Linked DNA regions of Homo sapiens: regions 1, 2, 3, 4, 5 and 7 are each linked to region 6. Evidence: promoter capture Hi-C in 16 types of primary human blood cells and fetal thymus (Javierre and others, 2016). All regions are on one chromosome and are shown on one strand. Each heading gives the region's core, a stretch centred on a gene start or on the middle of the fragment in contact. The rest is flanking DNA. Distances are from core to core; before and after follow the strand shown.

Region 1 (2,700 bases), core at 176-2,675, 660 kb after region 6:
AAACTCTTGGCCTCAAGAGATCCCACCTCAGACTCCCAGAGTGCTGGGATTACAGGCTGGGTGCTGAGCTATCGCACATGGCCTGTATTAGCCATAGACTGAGGGGAAATACATTTTCTTGAGAGCCTCAGCCTAGTGATCACTTGTATGAATAAACAATGATGGGTGGCTGCCAAAGTCAGAGAGCAAATACTGCGTGTGACAACTAAGTGTGGGAAGCTCAGTGTGGGAAGAAAAAGCTTCCCAGTTTCAGACATGCCCCTTAGTAGGGACAGCTGCCTCTTGTGTTTGGACAAAGTGTCCAAGTTCAAGTGTTTCACACACACACTGTTCCGTCTTCTGTTTGATCACAACCCTATGAGGCAGCCTGGTTTTCTTATTTCTATTTTATGGAAAACCTACTTAAAAGTCAAGCAACTTGTCCAAGGCTACCCAGCTTGAATATCTGACTCTCTCCACTTTGCTGCTACACACACACACACACACACACACACACTTTGCACTGTGTGTGCAGATACATATGCATATATATATTTAACTTGTGAAGCTGATACTGACTCTTTAACTGCCCTCCACCCATCACTAGTCATACCAGTGATCATTAGGCAGAGGCTCTCAAGAAAATGTATTAGTTATTTCCCCTCAGTCTATGGCTAATACAGGTTACTCACATAAATGAGCTGTCATGTCCTTTGGACAAAATGTCCAAATCGCTCATAAGCAATGGGTGAAGTATTTGAGGTAGGGCGGACAGGATTTCCTTTTGGTGGTTAGCTCGTTGCCTGTTAGCTCCTGGTGATATCTGTGTTTGGAAGAGAACTAAACTGCATTTCACTGAAAACACTCCTTCAGGTCTATTACAAACCAGATGAGGATCCCCTTTTCTAGAATCTTCCTCAACACTGCTAACGTTTGGCAGATACATAGGTTGGCTCTAACAGCCATTCCCAATCAATCCTCTTCTCCTTTGTCTGCCTCCCACAGTAGTGGATGAAAAATCAGACACTGATTTTCTCAGACTTCTTTGCTGTGGGCGCGGCCAGTGAGGCAATGAGGTAAGTCTGCTGGTGCAGGGGCCAGGTTTCTAGGAAATACTTTTCTCCCTCATGGGAGAAAGAGAGGAAGCCTGAAGTAAGCTTTCTTCTGCAGCCCTGGCCCGCTGCCTGTTCTGGATGAGGGTATGCTGGGATATGACAACGGAAGCCAGCGGGGTCGCAGAGCAAGAGCGAGGCGGTGGGCGGAGTCGAGGGACGGGAGGCGAGGCGAGGCGAGCCAGGGGGCGTGGCTTTCTAACTGCGGGGTGCGGCCAGCCGAGGTGGGCGGGGCCGCGTTCCGGGACGTGGTCGTCCGGGCTTTGGAACCCCGCCTGTTAGGGGCCGGGCTGAGGCGAAAGGGTGGGGCCGCGCTCCATCGGGGCGGGGCTTGTGGAACCTCGAAACCCCGGCGACTCGGGGCCTGAGCGCGCGTCTCCCGGCGCGGGGTTCCTCCCACGCAGACCCTCATTCAAACGATGCCAAAGGGGCGGCGCGGCAGCCACAGCCCCACCATGAGCCAGCGGTCGGCTCCGCCCCTCTATTTCCCGTCCCTGTACGACCGCGGCATCTCCTCGTCCCCGCTCAGCGACTTCAACATCTGGAAGAAGCTCTTCGTGCCGCTGAAGGCGGGCGGGGCGCCAGTGGGCGGGGCGGCGGGGGCCCGGTCCCTGTCCCAGGCGCTCCCCGCCCCGGCGCCCCCGCCCCCGCCACCACCCGGCCTGGGTCCCTCCAGCGAGCGCCCCTGGCCCTCGCCCTGGCCCTCCGGCCTGGCCTCCATCCCCTACGAGCCTCTGCGCTTCTTCTACTCACCGCCGCCGGGGCCTGAGGTGGTTGCCTCGCCCCTGGTCCCCTGCCCCTCGACCCCCAGGCTCGCCTCTGCCTCCCACCCGGAGGAGCTCTGCGAGCTGGAGATCCGGATTAAGGAGCTGGAGTTGCTCACCATCACTGGGGACGGCTTCGACTCCCAGAGCTGTGCGTGACCTCGCCAGGGCCACCGAGCCCAGCCTTAGCCTGCCCTAGCTCCCTCCTTGGCTCCGTGCCCCGACCCGAAATGTAGCCTGGTTTGACTCCAGCCCCCAGTAGTCCCAGATCCAAAATCTATCCCCTAGCACCCAGACTCCCTTATCCTGGACTTAACCGACTCCTCCCCCCACCACAGATCTGAACTTCATGAGCCTCTTAGTCCCAAACTCCATCCTCCCTCCGTCCTAAACCCTTTGGGTCATCTGGACTCTGAGCCTCCACACCTGGAACTCCATCCGCCACCACCCCGTCCTGAACTTTAATCCTCCTGCACAGTCATCCTCCTACCCTGTACTCTGGAGCTCCACCCACCACAGACAGTCCCTAAGCTTTAATGTTCGGTCCTAAACCGGGGCTCTCCATGGGGGGAAGGTGAAGTAAGGTGACTGTCAGTTGTCTGTAGGGGGAGGTGGGAGTTGTGCAAGAACCACAAGGCCCAAGGCCGTTTCCAGGGCAGCTTTGGGACACTCCACTTCTCAATGCTGGGGGGCAGCCCCCCTGGGACTCTGTGGCCTTGGCGCCGGTAGTTCTCTCACCAGGATCCTGGGCTGATATCTGGTCTTACGTCTGAAGTCTTAGGGCTCTGGACCACGTGTGCTGATGCGGGCAGGATCCCTCAGCCTACGAGCTGAATGACTCCTCC
Region 2 (2,700 bases), core at 50-2,549, 530 kb after region 6:
GTAAGAGGATGAGCTTCAGTGATGGCTCTCAATTAGTCATTGTCAGCTTCCGACGGCTGGCCACTACATTCCTCACCTTCAAGGCTCTTGTCTCCTTTGCAAAACTTCTTGCACCACCACCGCACTGTATGTTTGTTAGCAGTTCCTGGGCCAAACGCACTGCTGATGTTGCGAGCTGTCTCCGCTGCCTTACAACCCATTTTGAACTCAAATAAGAAAATCACTCGAATTTGCTTTTTGTCTAACATCATTTCCATAGTCTAAAATAAACATAAAATAAACTAGCAAAAAAACATAAAGCGAGAAATGCCCATTAAAATGATGTATACGGTAACCACATTTATTTACATTCTTAAATGTAAATAAGAATTATGTTCTTAATTTTATCTTTTCTTGCCTTATGTTTTATTCCAATATCAAACGGAAAATTCTAACAATGCAAAAACCGCAATTACTTTTGTACCAACCTAATATCTATATATATATATATACACACATGAATAATTTGTTATATAATTTGATTTTTTTTTTTTTGAGACAGAGTCTTGCCCTGTCACCCAGGCGGGAGTGCAGTGGTGCGATCTCTGCTCACTGCACCCTCTGCCTCCCAAGTTCAAGAGATTCTCCTGTCTCAGCCTCCTGAGTAGTTGGGATTACAGGTATGCACCACTATGCCTGGCTAATTTTTGTATTTTTAGTAAAGATGGGGTTTTTCCACGTTCGCCAGGCTGGTTTCAAACTCCTGACCTCAGGTGATCCACCTGCCTCGGCCTCCCAAAGGGCTGGGATTATAGGCGTGAGCCACAGCACCCAGCCTAATTTGATTTTTTAAAAACCCAAATATAAGCTTCATATTTATTTCTGCAAAATTCCGTCTACTGGATTACACAGTGTCAATTACAGCCTAACTTTCAGTTGAAAAGCTAGAATCTTCAGAGATTCCCCCAGGGGCCATGGAGGATGGGCTGTTGAGGGTCCCTGATTTCCTCTGCTCTTCCAGAGAAGAGCCACCTGCTAGTCTTCTCCCTCTGAGAGAGAGATTAGGCTTCCATGGCAGTGGAGAAGGTAGAGGGGGCACGAGAGATAACTTCCTGAACACCTCTGCCTCTAACTTCCTACATTGTCCTCTCTGATCCTCATACAGCCAGGAGTGGTGAGTCAAGCAGGTGCTATTGTGCCTGATTCACAAGTGAAGTTACTGAGTTATAACGAGGTGAAGGGTCAAGTTCTAGGCACTTCTCCAACTGTAATGTACATGAGGATCACCTGGGGATCTTGTTAAAATGCACATTCTGATTCAGTGGGTTGGGTGTGGGGCCTAAGATTCTGTATTACTAAGAAGCTCTTGGGTGATGCTGGAGACCACGAGCCTCTCGGTGAAACAGCAGGTGAGATGCTTTAGGGCCAGTTCTCTGGATAGAGGTGGGAGTCGCAATCACATTGCCCCTAGCTCCTCCTGCCACTAAATTTGGCCACTTCTATTTGGAAGTTGGGAGAGGATTATCCTATTGCAGTACTGTGTCTAGAGGGGAAGGTGACTCATGTCCCCTGCTCCTTCCCCAGGCAGAACTCAGAGTTCTTTGTGTCTTGTCTGCTCCTTGCCTGAGCTTTTTGGCTATTTCTTTTTCTAAACTTGAATAAAATACAACAGCAAGAAAATAGCAATGACTCCTGTTGGAGTCCAGTATAGCTGAGATCACCTGATTTTAAGTCGGGCTCAGGTGAGGCAACTTGTTATAATGGAAAGCTTTTAGCTTCCAGAGTTAGACACCTGGGTCCAAATCCTGGTTCTGCCCCTTACAAAATATAAATAGAAGGAAAATGTACTTAAATTTCTTGGCTGGGTGCGGTGGCTCATGCCTGTAAGCCCAGCACATTGGGAGGCTGAGGCTGGTGGATCATTTGAGGCCAGGAGTTCATGACCAGCCTGTCCAACATGGCAAAACACTGTCTCTACTAAAAATACAAAAATTAGCCAGGCGTGGTGGTGCATGCCTGTAGTCCCAGCCACTCGGGAGACTGAGGTATGAGAACACTTGAGCCTGGTGGGTGGAAGTTGCAGTGACCTGAGATCGCACCACTGCACTCCAGCCTGGGTGACAGAGCGAGAATTTGTCTCTAAATAAATAAATAAATGAATAATAAATTGGCCTCAGCTAAAGTGGCAGACTTCCATCCTGACCCTTACTCTGCCCAATAACCCCACTGGAGGGCAGCCCATTTCAGGTTACCCTGCAACATCACCAGAATTCTCAGAATGCTCAGTCTGCAATTCCAAGTTATTCCAAAGCTAAGTCAGTCTGATGTTCTGGGAAGAGAAGCTGAAAGCCCAGCACTTAGGGGAAGTTTGGCCTCCAGGGCATCCCTACAGGTTGTACTCACTGATGGGTGGCATGGTGTGGGGGATGATGGGAACTCAGTTGGGTCTGAGGACAGAACCTCCCTATCCCTTGATGTTAAGTTAGCCAGAGCACACCACCACCAGCCCACATATGATGCTAAACCTCCTTTCCCAGGCAGCCCACACCAACTTCTTCCAGGAGTCGATGTTTCCTATGGAAAATGGATTAAATAAGAATCTCCTTGAATTCATCAGACAGCCCTGAACTCTGATGTCCTGTTGGTCCTGATCTTGACTCCACCTCTCTCCTTGAGGGAACTGGTGTTCTATGGCTAGGACAGACTCGAATCTGAGACTGG
Region 3 (2,700 bases), core at 201-2,700, 540 kb after region 6:
AGTGGTGGTACCACTTTACATTTCAATGGCAGTCTATGAGAATTCCAGATACCACACTTGGTATTGTCAGGTTTTTCCCCCTAACGTTAGCCCTTCTATTTTGTGTTTGTGTGTGGAGGTATTTTCATTTTGGTTTTAATTTGCATTTCTCTGGTGACTGATGTTGAACCTCTTGTGTTTATTGGCTATCCATATATCTTGTTTTATGAAGTATATGCATATCTTTTGCTTATTGTATTGTTATAGTTTTCTACATATCACCACACATTTGTCAGCCTAAACCAAAAACTAAAGTCCACTTACTGTCTCTCAGTTTCCATAGGCAAGCCGTGGCTCAGCTGGCTCTTCCGCTCCAAGTCTCACAAGGCTGCAATCAAGGTGTCAGCCTGGGCTACAGTGTGATCTGAGACTCAGGTCTTCTTCCAAGCACAGGTGGTTGTCTGCAGAATTCATTTCTCTGCCGCTATAGAACTCATGGTGGCTCGTTTCCAGGCCAACAGGAGAGCTTCTCTTCTGCTTCAAGAGCTTAAAATTCTTCTTATCATGCCCATTTTTGTATTGGGTGGTTTGTCTTCTTACTGAGTTGGATGAGTACTTTATAAATTCTAGGTACAAGCCCTATGCAGATGTACATATTGCAAATATTTTCTCCCAGGCCATAACTTGCCATTTCATTTTCTTAATGGAGTGTTGGGAGAAGAGAAATGTTTGATTTAAATGAAGTCTAACTTCTCAACTTTTTTTTTGTATGGTTCATGCTTCTTATTCTTATACAAGAAACATTTGCCTATCCAAAGGCTACAATATTTTCTCCTATATTTTCTTCTAGAAGTTTGATAACCTTAGCCTTATATTTAGTTCTATGACCCATTTTAAGTCAACTTTTCTGTATGACGTGAGATAAGAGTTGAGATTCAATTTTCCCCCCAAATTGATATCCCATTTTTACCACACTATCGGTTGAAAACACCATTTCCCCTGTTGGCACCTTAACTGAAAAAAATAAATTGACCATACATAAGTGGATCTAATTCTAGATGCTTTATTGTTGTATTAGTTTACATTTCTCTACTTATATCTACAATAATTATGTGATTGCTCCATGTTTATATTAAGTCTTTCAATAAATTATATCCTTCAGCTTTTTGTTCTTTTCCAAAATTGTTTGAGCTATTCTATGGCACAAAGGTCATATTTTATATAAATTTCAGCTTGCCAACTTCTAAAAGAAAACAAGCCTGCTAGGTTTGCACAGAATACATAACTCAATTGGGGAAGAAATGCCATTTAATGATATTGAATTTTCCGATTCATAAATCCAGTATATATCTCCATTTTCCTTCAACATTATGTTATAGTTTTTGGTGTACATGTTTGCACATATTTCATTAAAATTTCACTGAATATATTTCATAGTTTTGGGTGCTGTTATAAATGGCATTTAAAAATTTCATTTTCAGGCCAGGCGTGGTGGCTTATGCCTGTAATCCCAGCACTTTGAGAGGCAGAGGCAGGTGGATCACCTGAGGTCAGGAGTTCAAGAGCAGCCTTGCCAATATAATGAAACCTTGTCTCTACAAAAATACAAAAATTAGCCAGGCATGATGGCAGGCGCCTGTAATCCCAGCTACTCGGGAGGCTGAGGCAGGAGAATTGCTTGAACCCGGGAGGCAGAAGTTGCAGTGAGCCGAGATGGTGCCATTGCACTCCAGCCTGGGTGACAGAGCGAGACTCCATCTCAAAAAAATTTTTTTTTCATTTTCAATTATTCATTGCTGGTATATAAAAGTATTACCAATTTTTGTATAGTGATCTTGTGTTTTGTGACTTAGCTAAATTTACTTAATAGTCCAGGAGATTTTAAAAAAGATTCCTTATGATTTTCTATAAATATGACCATGTCATGAGCCAATAAAATTTGTTTCCTTCTTTTCCTATCTATATGCCATTTTGCACTTGCTGAGACCTCCAACACAATGTTAAATGAAACTAGTGAGACCAGACATCCTCCACTTGTTTCCATTAGTAAGGAGAAGGTATTCAGTTATTCAGTATTCAGAAAGTACTCAGTATTCAGTGTTATGTATATATGTATATTTAGTGTGTATATATATGTATCCAGTAAATTTTATATATATAATATATAGTATATCTAAATATAGTATATCATACCATTAAGTATGATGCTGTAGGTTTTTCATACATGCCCCTGATAAGGCAAAGGCTGAGGAAGTTCCCTTAAATTCCAAGTCTGCTGAGATTTTTTTTTTATCATCAATGGGTATTAAATTTTGTCAAATATTTTTCTGTATATATTTAGATTATTATATGGTTTTTCTTTTTTAAAAAAGTATAATGAATTACATTGATTGATTTTTGAATATTAAGCCAACCTTGGATTCCTGGAATTAATTCTAGTTGACCATGATGTATTTGTGTGTGAGATATATATATGTGATATATATATATACGTATATATGTGTATATATGTATATATGTGTATGTATATGTGTATATATGTATATATGTGTATATATATATTTAGTGTGTGTATGTATACACAGTACATAATTATATACATAATATATCTAAATAATATATACATATGTTATATATAAATACACATACATACATACATACAGTCTTCAATTTGCATTGTTCCAATATGTACAAATTTCAGTCACCATGGGTTAAATAAAT
Region 4 (2,700 bases), core at 59-2,558, 560 kb after region 6:
TTAAGGCTGTTAGGTGCATACATGTTTATAATATTTCTATCTTTTTAATGGATTAATCCTTAATTGTTATAAATTGTATTTGTCTCTAGAACAATTTTTGCCTTAAAATCCATTTTGTCTGTTATTAATACAATCACTCCAGCTCTCTTTCGGTTATTTTTCCTTAGTATAGCTTTCCATTCTTTTACTTTCAACCTATTTGTTTGTTTGGTTCTAAAGTGTTCTCTTTAGTCATAATATGGTTGGATCATGTTTGTTTGTTTTTTAGTCCTTTCTGCCAATCTCTGCCTTTTAATTGGAATGTTTAATCCATTTATATTTAATCCAGTTATGGATACAGTAGGATTTATGCCTGCCATTTTGCTGTTTGTTTTATACAAGTCCTGTATCTTTTTAAAATTCCTCTAGCCTCTGATTTTTCTTTATTCATGTGATCTCAGAGCCATTTACTGAAAAAATTCAAACTTTCCTTCACTGATCTGTTATAGCACCTTCACCATATATTACATTGTCCATATATTCCTATTGCTTTTCTGAGCTGTCTATTCTAACGCATTAGTGTATTTTTTTCTATCTCTACGACAATACTGCCCTGAATTAATTGTTATAGATTTATATCTGGTAGGGCAATTCTCCCCATCATATTCATTTTCATCAAGAGTATTTTGGCGTTTTTTTGGACTAGTGCTTTTTCATCCAAATATTTAAATAAGCTTGCCAAATTTTACCAAAATATCCATTGAGATTTGTATTTTTATTGTTGGATGTTCAGATCAATTTGTGATCATTTATATTTCTATGATATGGAGTTTTTAAATCAATTTATTTGTAGTAAGTTAAAAAGTTATAGCTCTTCATTTATTTAGGTATTTTAAAATGCCTTTTATTGGTTTTATAATTTTTTCCAATAATTCTTGCATAAGTTTTGTTAGATTTCTTTCCAGGTTCTATTTTTCATTGCTATTGTAAATGTTACCTTTTTAAATTTCAGCTTTCTAATTGTGTGGTTTATGTATAGAAATATATATTTTTTTCTTTTTGAGACAGAGTCTCACTCTGTTTCCCAGGCTGGAGTGCAGTGGCACAATCTTGGCTCACTGCAGCCTCTGCTGCCTCCCGGGTTCAAATGATTCTTGTGCCTCAGCTCTGAGTAGCTGGGACTACAGGCATGCACCACCATGCCCAGCTAATTTATTTGTATTTTTAGTAGAGATGGGGTTTCACCATGTTGTCTAGGCTGATCTTGAACTCCTGAGCTCAGGCAATCTGCCTACCTTGGGCTCCCAAAGTGCTAGGATTACAGGCATGAGCCACTGTGCCTGGCCTAGAAATATAATTTAATATATTGATTTTATATTCAGGAAACTGAAGATGCACTCATAGTAACTAACATTTTTATGTAGATTCTTTTGGGTTTTCAAAACACATAATGATATAATCTGCAAATTATACAGTTTTATTTCTTCTTTCCAATATCTTTTACCATATATTTTATTTTCTTGCCTTACTTCACTGACTATTTAGTACAATGTTGAATTTAAGCAGTGATAGTGGACATTCCTGTCTCATTCCCAGTCTCAAAGGGAATGTTTCCAATATTTCATCATAAATATGTTAGACACAAAAGACTATCTATTGTATGAGTCCAGGCATAGGACATTCTAGAAAAGGCATAACTCATCTATAGTGACCGCAGATCAGCAGTTGCTTGGGGCTGAGGCTTGGGGAGGAACTGGCAGCAAAGAGGCACAAAGGAATTCTCTGAGGGTATTGAAAATGTAGAACATTGTGATAATGGTTACACAGGCTTATACACCTGTCAAAACTCATTGAACTGAAAGCATAATATTGTATATAAATTATACCTCAATAGAGTTGGTTAAAGCACCCTAAGAAAGCTTTCTTCTCTCTACTGTACTGTATATACAAAAAGGTTTTGGGACTCTCACCATATACATGTGATTCTATTTCAGGTTTCTTCATTCTGTTTCATGGATCTGTCATTTATTTCACTAATACCACACTGTCTTGATAATTGCAGCTTTTTTTTTTTTTTTTTTTTTTTTTTGAGATGGAGTCTCACTCTGTTACCCAGGCTGGAGTGTAGTGGTGCAATCTTGGCCCGCTGCAACCTCTGCCTCCCAGGTTTATGCCTACATAAAGCGATTCTCCTGCCTCAGCCTCCCAAGTAGCTGGAACTACAGGTACCTGCCACCACGTCCGGCTAACTTTAGGTATTTTTAATAGAGACAGGGTTTTACCATGTTGGCCAGGCTAGTCTCAAACTCCTGACCTCAAGTGATCCACCTGCCTTGGCCTCCCAAAGTGCTGGGATTGCAGCCATGAGCCACCGCGTCCAGTCTGACTGCAGCTTTTATTAAGTCCTGAAGTTAAGACCTCCAGACTTTTTCTTTCTGAAGATTGTTTTGGCTATTCTAGGTCCTTTGCCTTTTTGACTAAATTTTAAATTCAGTTTGTCAATTTCTATGTATGGAATATATTTTTGTTACACAAATCAAATTTGCTGTTGCCTTTCCCTGAGGAGAATAGGTCTCTCCTAGGACAGCTTCACCTTGTTTCCTTCAAGGAGGCAGCATGGTAGAACAGGAAGAGGAGGTGCTTTGGAGATGGATCCATCATGTGTTTCCAGCACACTGCTTCCTGATTTTGTCTCTTTAAGCATGTCTCTTGGCGTCTCTG
Region 5 (2,700 bases), core at 161-2,660, 580 kb after region 6:
TCTAAGCATATGCATAAACAATTTGGAAGCACAGAGATGTAGGCAGAGTTTTTTGTTGCTGTTGTTCTGTTTTGTTGGCTGGGTGGCAGGGGTTATAACTATTAAGCAAAACCATAAATAGAAGGCATTAATGGTATGAAGAATGGAGGAAATGGATTTTTTTGGGGCGGGGCATATCACTTCCACTCTTCCAAATAATTGAGAGAAACTTTCTCCAGGATATGGAAATGTTTGGAGAACTTAGTGACTGATGCATGTATAAGCTTGGAAAATTAACATTTATTGAGTATCTGGCCAGGCACTTTACATAAAGCGTTATCGCCATCCTTAGTTCACCAGAGGAGGGGTGGTTTTAGAGATGAGGGACAGTCTCAGAGAACTTAGGCGTAACTACGCCAGCATTTCACTAGTAGTGAAATAAATGACGGGCGTGTGAAGTCCAGGTCTGTCTGGATTCCCCAAAGCCCCTTACACCATACTACCTTTGGAAAAGCAATGGAAAAGAAGAAATCAGGCAAGTGATGTATGGACCCATTATACTTCCCCCACTCTCATTTTAATATCACCTTGGCAAAGCTGAAGAGCAGACATCTTCGTGCCTCCATCAGTTATGCCCTCTGGGAGTCTCAGTTCATCCCTTCACACGCGGGATACTTAACTCTGCGGGATCTAAACCCTGGCCAAAATAAATTTTAAAGCTGGAAAAAATCCACACTGTACCCTTTGCATTGCCCTAATAGGCTGAAAATAGCCATGATAACCAAATTAAGGGACAGCGGCTGAGACTCAGACTCACTCCTTGTACACATTTTACTTAGGAAGGCGGGGAGGGGCGTGAAGTTAAGCCCTCAACAATTATTTCCTTAATTTGGGAGAAGGGCCTTCAGCTGGCGTCCCTGGCTGATTCTCAGCTCTGCTCTTGCTGAGTGGACAAGTCTCGGAGCGGCCCTGCTGTGTGCGGGGGACAAGCGGGGTGGGGAAGGCTGAGCGGGGAAAACGAGGGGTTCTCGGGTTGGAAAACAAAGAGAAGGAATGGATTTGGGGACCAAGGGCGTGGAGGAGTGTCAGATTTTGAGCGAGGCTTCCTGCATACTGAGTGTAAAATTTCGCAGGAGGAGTTGGGCAGACCGAGGCAGATTTGGCAACAAAAGGGTCCCGGGCTGGGCAAGTTTACGAACCGGGATGCGAGAACAGAGCTGGAGAGATTTGACGCGGAGCGCGAAGAAAGCGGGCTGAACTCGCACTGCGCCGCTGGCTCCCGGCTAGCGGGCGGGGTCTCCAGGGAGCCGCACCTCAGCCCACCCTGAGGGCGGGGCTGGCCCGGCGGTTACATAACAAACCTGTGAGAGCGGCTGGGGGCGGTTCGGGCGCTGGTGGGGGCGGGGCAGGGGCGGGGCCAGGGCGGGGCCAGACCTGCACCGGGCCAGGCAAGATGGCGGCCATGGAGACCGAGACGGCGCCGCTGACCCTAGAGTCGCTGCCCACCGATCCCCTGCTCCTCATCTTATCCTTTTTGGACTATCGGGATCTAATCAAGTAATGGGACGACACGCATGGCAGGGGTGGGGGCATGGGGAGAGGAGGCGGTGAGGCAGGGGGAAAGGGGGTCGGGGCCGCTGACAGGACCCGAGCTTCCGCGACACCAGAAGGTGACGCCAGGGCCGCCCTCATCCTGCGGAGCCACCGGGGACCGGGGCGAGACGGGGGCGGAAAGGGCCTCGCCCTGAGTCTTCCTCCTGTCCTGGGCCCAGGTATGAGAAGCGACGAGATATCTCTCTCCCAGGCCTCGGTGAGGCCCACTTGCAAGAGAAGGAGGTAGTGGCCCTCGTGCCGCACCGCCGCGCTCCGCGGACCCCCGCTGGCCCCGCAGGTGCCCGCCCGGTTGGGGTCAGTCCCTGCTGCTGTGTAAAAGCCCCTGTCCCGGCCAGGCGCTCTTCTCTGCTGGGTCCGGGGCCTGCGGAGTCTGGCGCCGGGGTGGGCAGGTGGGTGAGCGAGAGGAGAAGATAGGCAACCCCTTACTCCCCTGGCGCGACTTCCCCAGCGCCAGAATCGCTGTCCGGGCTCACTTTCGGACTTCAGTGCGTGAGAATTGTTTTGCTGTCAGCATTGCTCCTTACGGTTCGATGTTGGATTTTATGTTTTGGTACTGACTTCCGGTGATGCCATACCGGTGACTATCTTTTCTCCTGGACACCTTGGGTTTCCCACATTACTAGCATCTGTTCCAGAAATAAACACCGGTTGCTGATAAGGGTGGTTCAATGCCCAGTTTCTTCAGAACTTGGGACTGTCTGGGGTGGTGGAAGAAATGGCGCTGCCAGCCCGCCCCCCAGCTGTCAGGATTGTTTACACCCTTGACAGGGGGTGGCATGGCTGTGAGTTTCCTGTGCTACCGTATATATTTGCAGAGGATGCAAAGTCGCCCTCTTAGGATAGGTGGGCGAGATTTGTTTTGTGTTTGGATTAACCATTAGATTCTAGCCATTTGATGATTGTGCCCTGTGTTATTAGAGGTCTTTTTATAAATACAGATTTCTTGGAGCTACAGATAGTTGTTGGCCTAGCTAAGTGGTGATAGAGAGATACCTCAAGTTTTTGGTCACTACCTGTACTGGTCGCTACCTGTACCTGCTAGCAATTTTATTTTTCTAGAAAATACTTACAATTTAACTAACAGTCTCCAACTTTTGATTGCTGCCA
Region 6 (2,700 bases), core at 9-2,508:
TGCAACACAAAGGAGCCATTCAGGAGTGGGGGAGGCTGACTTGGGGAGAGCGAATGCACAATCCCCGCCTTGAGCCTGCGGTTCCACTGGAGGGGGCACAGGTCCGTTTGCGCACGTGCGTGTGAGTAGCCACAGGGCAGCGGCGGGACATGCCTGCACCGGGCATGGGACTGCTGAACCAACAGCGCTCTGGCGGACCGTTTGGGACACCCGCCCGGAGGCAGGTTGGCACTGGCGCTGCCTGGAGGTCAGCCACTCATTGTACCCCGGAGGAACTGGGTCCCGCGGGGGCATACGGCTCGCCCACCGGCACGCGTTAGGAGGCGAACACCTGCATCCAGCTAGGTGTTCCGAGCTCAGCCCAGGGCGAGGGACTGCTCTGCCACCTTCTTCTCATTCTTCCTGTAAGAACACTGTCTATCTCGGACAAAAAGGACCCACCTGACAGCAAGTGGTATCGTCACACAGAGGTAACAGGGAAGTCACGGATCCTCTTGAGAATCTGACAAAAGTTGGTGCCCCTTCCCCATAGTGGCACTCAGAAAACTGCAGGTGAAACCACAAATGGGCGGAGGCACTCACAGGCTTCCTGGGGCCCGTCCATTGATCAGATACCAGGTTAAGAAATTCTGTCCTTATTGGAGCCTAGACGGCAGCGCAAAGGAACCAGACGGACTTGGAAAGAGAGGCAGGGACTCCCTCCTCCCTCCAAACACAGCCAGCGTTTCATCTCGGATTGCGGGAGGGGCCTGGCGGAAGGTGGAGGAGAGGTGGAGCGCCTGGATGGGGCCCTCCCCATTCTCCTGGCCCCAACCCCAGGACGCCTGGCTGCGGAGGGCTCGAAAGCGAGCAGCGAACGCCCAAAGCCTGGGTGGCGGGAAGGTGGCAGCGCCCTGTAGCTTTTCCTTTGCATTTTTCTTTAAATCGTGAGCTCCGGAGCTATCGTTTCGACCGCTGCTTTCCGGTCTCCACCTCCACCTCCCAGTTGGCTGGCTCGCCCTTCCCCCACCCCCCCATCCCCCCCATCCCCCCCCATCCCCACCCCCATCCCAGCCGCGTGCCCGACCCTCGGCCTCCAGCCCCGCCTCCTTCGCCGCGGGGTTTAACCCGAGGCAGAGTGAAATCTGCATAGTGACCGCCCCCTCGGAGATCATTGGTGCAGCCCCGCCCATCGCGGCCGGTGATTGGTAAGCCGCCCGGGGTTATTTGCATGTCGGACGCAGCCGGGTACCCAGCTGTGCTGCCGGCCGGCGCAGCGCAGAAGTTTGCAGAGCGCTTTCTCGCCGGCTGGTCCCGGACTCGCGCTGCGCCCTGCGCCCTGCGCCGCCGCCTCCTCCTTCTGCCGCCGCCGCCCTGTTCTCCCGGGATTCCTTCTCTGTGGAGGACTGACTCTCTGCTTGTGGGAATTAGAGGTGGACAAGGGGGAGTGCCGGGGGGTAGCGACGGGGTTCTTTCCAGTGGCAGCTGCGAGTCGGGACGCCGGGAGCGTGGGGCTCCTGCTGGCCACGGATCTCGGCCACCTTCCCGCGGCCTCCGGGCAGGCAATGCGGCCGCCGAGCCCCGCGACGCAGAGAGGAAGGAGGGTGGCCCGGAGGGCCTAGAGCTTGTTTCTGCCCACTTGGGAAAGAGGGCATGGAGTTGTGAGTGCCCCTCGCTCGGCGACGCCGCCCTCGGCAGGCTCCCCATGGCCGGGACGTACAGCTCGACTCTGAAGACGCTGGAGGACTTGACCTTGGACTCCGGGTATGGGGCCGGGGACTCGTGCCGCTCGCTCAGCCTCTCGTCCTCCAAGTCCAACTCGCAGGCGCTCAACTCTTCGGCGCAGCAGCACCGCGGGGCGGCCTGGTGGTGCTACTCCGGCTCCATGAACAGCCGCCACAACAGCTGGGACACGGTGAACACGGTGCTGCCCGAGGACCCCGAAGTGGCCGACCTCTTCTCGCGCTGTCCGCGGCTCCCCGAGCTGGAGGAGTTCCCCTGGACCGAAGGAGACGTGGCCCGGGTGCTCCGCAAAGGCGCTGGCGGCCGGCGGCTGCCCCAGTTCTCCGCCGAGGCGGTGAGGCGCCTGGCCGGGCTGCTCCGCAGGGCACTGATCCGCGTGGCCCGCGAGGCGCAGCGCCTGAGCGTGCTGCACGCCAAGTGCACCCGCTTTGAGGTGCAGAGCGCCGTGCGCCTGGTGCACAGCTGGGCGCTGGCCGAGAGCTGCGCGCTGGCAGCCGTCAAGGCGCTGTCCCTGTACAGCATGAGCGCCGGCGACGGGCTGCGCCGGGGCAAGTCCGCGCGCTGCGGCCTCACCTTCTCAGTGGGTCGCTTTTTCCGCTGGATGGTGGACACCCGAATCTCCGTGCGCATCCACGAGTACGCAGCCATCTCCCTCACCGCCTGCATGGAGAACCTGGTGGAGGAGATCCGGGCCAGGGTGATGGCCAGCCACAGCCCTGATGGCGGAGGGGCCGGAGGCGGGGAGGTGTCTGCTGAGGCCCTGGAGATGGTCATCAACAACGACGCCGAGCTCTGGGGCGTCTTGCAGCCCTATGAGCATCTCATCTGCGGCAAGAACGCCAATGGTAAGCGCGCGGGCCTCGGACTGGCAGACTGGGTAGGCAAGAAATCCCGCCCTGGGCTACTGGGGGAGTGAATTTCCTGAGACAAAGCTGGTGGCTGTGCCAGTTCTTTGGGAGAAAACGTTTGGTCTGAGGA
Region 7 (2,700 bases), core at 56-2,555, 540 kb before region 6:
TTAGGTTTCCTGGAATTGATCAGGCCCTGGGTTTTGTCTCATGCTTCTAGTGGCTTACATGGCTATCAAAATTGAAGTTCAAGGTCACCAGAGTTTTGCAATACCTTCAGGAACATTCTGGCTTTGGCGCTCACTTCTCTCCCAGGTAGTCTCATTTTCCTTTGTTGTTGTTGTTGTTGCTTTATTATGCTTTTAAGTTCTGGGATACGTGTGCAGAACTTACAGGTTTGTTACTTAGGTATACACGTGCCATGGTGGTTTGCTGCACCCCTCAACTCATCATCTATGTTAGGTATTTCTCCTAATGCTATCCCTTCTCTAGCCCCCCATCTGCTGACAGGCCCTGGTGTGTGATTTTCCCCTCCCTGTGTCCATGTGTTCTCATTGTTCAAATCCCATTTATGAGTGAGAACATGCAGTGTTTGGTTTTCTGCTCCTGTGTTAGTTTGCTGAGAATGATGGTTTCCAGCTTCATCCATGTCCCTGCAAAGGACGTGAGCTCATCCTTTTTTATGGCTGCATAGTATTCCATTGTGTATATGTGTCACATTTTCTTTATCCATTCTATCATTGATGGGTATTTGGGTTGGTTCCAAGTCTTTGCTATTGTAAATAGTGCTGCAGTAAACATACGTATGTGTCTTTATAGTAGAATCCCAGTAATGGGATTGCTAGGTCAAATGGTATTTCTGGTTCTAGATCCTTGAGGAATCGCCACACTGTCTTCCACAATGGTTGAACTAATTTACACTCCCACCAACAGTGTAAAAGCATTCCTATTTCTCCACATCCTCTCCAGCATCTATTGTTTCCTGACTTTTTAATGATCGCCATTCCAACTGGTGTGAGAGTCTCATTCTCATTTTTTATGGCCCCTGTGAAACTTTACTTTCTTGCCAGCTCAACAACTTATTTTGAAATATTTTAAAAAATAATTTATTCAGCATTTGTACTTATTTTTAAGATAAGGATTGTATATTATACTGCCCAAAATGGAATTCATTGTATTTCTTCTTCATTTATTTATTTATTTATTTATTTTTGTTTTCATTAATTTAAACCACAAAAAAGCAGGAGAAAATGGTGTGGGCTCTTTTTTCTAAAGAAGTAATCATTGGACTTATAAAAATAACACTTGATATTTATCTGTCTGTATACACACACATACACTCATAAACACGTATCTTCATAAAATGGGTTAAGCAAGTATTAATTGAGGTTGTTTCTTAGTGTTTTTTGTAATTTGCTTCACTTTATTTTCTATAATGAGTATATATTGCTTTTTCAATAAGAGAAACTAAAATCATTGTGGGAAAAAGGACTTTTTTGGAATAAAAATACAATTGAACCAACACACAGAGTATGTGTTGAACATGTAACTATCATAATATCTCATGTATATATCATCAAACCTAGTTAAATAAGGTGTTTTGTGTAAATAAATCTTCTGGAGAGACTGTTCCTTCAGCATGAGATTCTATTTTCTTTCAGCCATTTCAGTTGATGCTTTGTAATGTATACTAGGCATTTCCCCACCTTGTTTTTGCAGCCTGTTCCTTAGTGTTGGACTATATGGCCCTATACCGAATACTCCCAGGTTGCCAAATAATGTAGTAGATCCACTTTCTAAACATTAAAAACAAAATATGTTTGTAATAGTTTTTTCCTTCACTGTACTCTTTCTATAGTATGTTTTCTTAAACTTTCTTAAATTGGCTTCTTATTAGAAACACCAGCTGGAATAGTTACTTGATAAAATGATGTCTGTTTTAAAAATCATTACCTTCTTTTTAAGGACAAGGAGCATCCAAGATACCTGATCCCAGAACTTTGCAAACAGTTTTACCATTTAGGCTGGGTCACTGGGACTGGAGGAGGAATTAGCTTGAAGCATGGGTAAGTTTCTGGCAGCCTTTATTACTGGGAACTCTCCATTTGAGTAGACCACAGCAAGTCTAATGTGTTATATCCAAAGAACAACTGATGATCAGTTTTATGTGATACTGAAGGTCTTTAGTTTCTAAATGGACAAGTGGACATTTGTGTAACTGAATGGAAGCAATGTACAAAAGCTGCAGATATGTCAAATAGCTAAAGACTGAAGATCCACAATTTCAAATCACAATAACTTAATACTCAGTTTTTGAGTACCAGAGTTAAATAACATGCTACCAAGTATGTTCATATACCTGAGATTCTAGAGGATCCTCTCTAGGTAGATAGGATTTGTTTCAAAGGTTCAGGTACTTTGGTTTTTGAAACAGAGTCTTGCTCTGTCACCCAGGCTGGAGTGCAGTGGGGCGATCATGGCTCACTGCAGCCTTGACTTCCCAGGCTTAAACAATCCTCCTACCTCATCCTCCTGGGCAGCTGGGACTACAGGCATGTGCGACCACGCCTGGCTAATTTTTTCTGGGGTTTTTTTTTTTTTTTTTTTTGTAGAGACTGGGTCTCACTAAGTTGCATGGGCTGGTCTCAAACTCCTAGGCTCAAGCAACCCACCTGCCTTGACCTCCCAGATACATATTTCAAAGTCACTTAAATACAGATGACTAATCATTAAAAATCCTAATAATTATTTTTTATTGAATCAAAAGAACGGCAGTATGCTTTCTAAGCACCTGTATCATTAATGAATATAGTGCCTGCTAATCTGTATTCCTCAGAGGACAAAACAAGATGTACTGGACTTAAATTGAA

The links. Contacts are between HindIII fragments. The CHiCAGO score rates a contact against its expected background, and 5 or more counts as called.
Region 1: a contact is called between the fragment with the promoter of C11orf91 here and the fragment with the promoter of ABTB2 in region 6, in 8 of 17 cell types (total CD8 T cells, fetal thymus, total CD4 T cells and 5 more). The highest score is 9.6, in total CD8 T cells.
Region 2: a contact is called between a fragment that was not itself captured here and the fragment with the promoter of ABTB2 in region 6, in 11 of 17 cell types (M0 macrophages, megakaryocytes, naive B cells and 8 more). The highest score is 10.3, in M0 macrophages.
Region 3: a contact is called between a fragment that was not itself captured here and the fragment with the promoter of ABTB2 in region 6, in 4 of 17 cell types (neutrophils, naive B cells, naive CD4 T cells and 1 more). The highest score is 6.7, in neutrophils.
Region 4: a contact is called between a fragment that was not itself captured here and the fragment with the promoter of ABTB2 in region 6, in 4 of 17 cell types (erythroblasts, naive B cells, megakaryocytes and 1 more). The highest score is 7.9, in erythroblasts.
Region 5: the fragment with the promoter of FBXO3 here is called in contact with the fragment with the promoter of ABTB2 in region 6 in 8 of 17 cell types (neutrophils, total CD8 T cells, naive CD8 T cells and 5 more); the score reaches 7.1 in neutrophils.
Region 7: a contact is called between a fragment that was not itself captured here and the fragment with the promoter of ABTB2 in region 6, in 1 of 17 cell types (M2 macrophages). The highest score is 5.8, in M2 macrophages.

What each region holds. Positions count from the first base shown.
Region 1 is chr11:33,699,551-33,702,250 of GRCh38, reverse strand. It overlaps C11orf91 (chromosome 11 open reading frame 91), which reads left to right and starts at 1,425. Exons shown (of 2, transcript NM_001166692.2): 1 at 1,425-2,006. The coding sequence starts at 1,511. RefSeq lists silencers at 1,250-1,489, 1,670-1,759. The HindIII fragment of the contact is 1,250 bases long and covers 1,139-2,388 here.
Region 2 is chr11:33,829,939-33,832,638 of GRCh38, reverse strand. No RefSeq gene overlaps it. Among named protein-coding and RNA genes, the nearest start is that of LINC02721, 8.9 kb to the right of the region's middle. The HindIII fragment of the contact is 900 bases long and covers 850-1,749 here.
Region 3 is chr11:33,812,581-33,815,280 of GRCh38, reverse strand. LINC02721 (long intergenic non-protein coding RNA 2721) reads left to right here. Exons shown (of 3, transcript NR_183773.1): 3 at 314-1,140. Among named protein-coding and RNA genes, the nearest start is that of LINC02721, 8.4 kb to the left of the region's middle. The HindIII fragment of the contact is 4,873 bases long and covers 1-2,700 here.
Region 4 is chr11:33,792,696-33,795,395 of GRCh38, reverse strand. No RefSeq gene overlaps it. Among named protein-coding and RNA genes, the nearest start is that of LINC02722, 11 kb to the left of the region's middle. The HindIII fragment of the contact is 1,185 bases long and covers 716-1,900 here.
Region 5 is chr11:33,773,230-33,775,929 of GRCh38, reverse strand. FBXO3 (F-box protein 3) reads left to right here and starts at 1,410. Exons shown (of 11, transcript NM_012175.4): 1 at 1,410-1,536. The coding sequence starts at 1,433. FBXO3-DT (FBXO3 divergent transcript) reads right to left here and starts at 1,231. Exons shown (of 3, transcript NR_120550.1): 1 at 1,179-1,231; 2 at 567-676; 3 at 260-482. RefSeq lists silencers at 1,318-1,417, 1,878-1,947 and an enhancer at 1,896-2,396. The HindIII fragment of the contact is 5,455 bases long and covers 266-2,700 here.
Region 6 is chr11:34,356,568-34,359,267 of GRCh38, reverse strand. ABTB2 (ankyrin repeat and BTB domain containing 2) reads left to right here and starts at 1,258. Exons shown (of 17, transcript NM_145804.3): 1 at 1,258-2,567. The coding sequence starts at 1,685. RefSeq lists a silencer at 1,073-1,272 and an enhancer at 2,223-2,332. The HindIII fragment of the contact is 9,392 bases long and covers 1-2,700 here.
Region 7 is chr11:34,894,206-34,896,905 of GRCh38, reverse strand. It overlaps APIP (APAF1 interacting protein), which reads left to right. Exons shown (of 7, transcript NM_015957.4): 2 at 1,796-1,896. Among named protein-coding and RNA genes, the nearest start is that of APIP, 21 kb to the left of the region's middle. The HindIII fragment of the contact is 4,090 bases long and covers 1-2,700 here.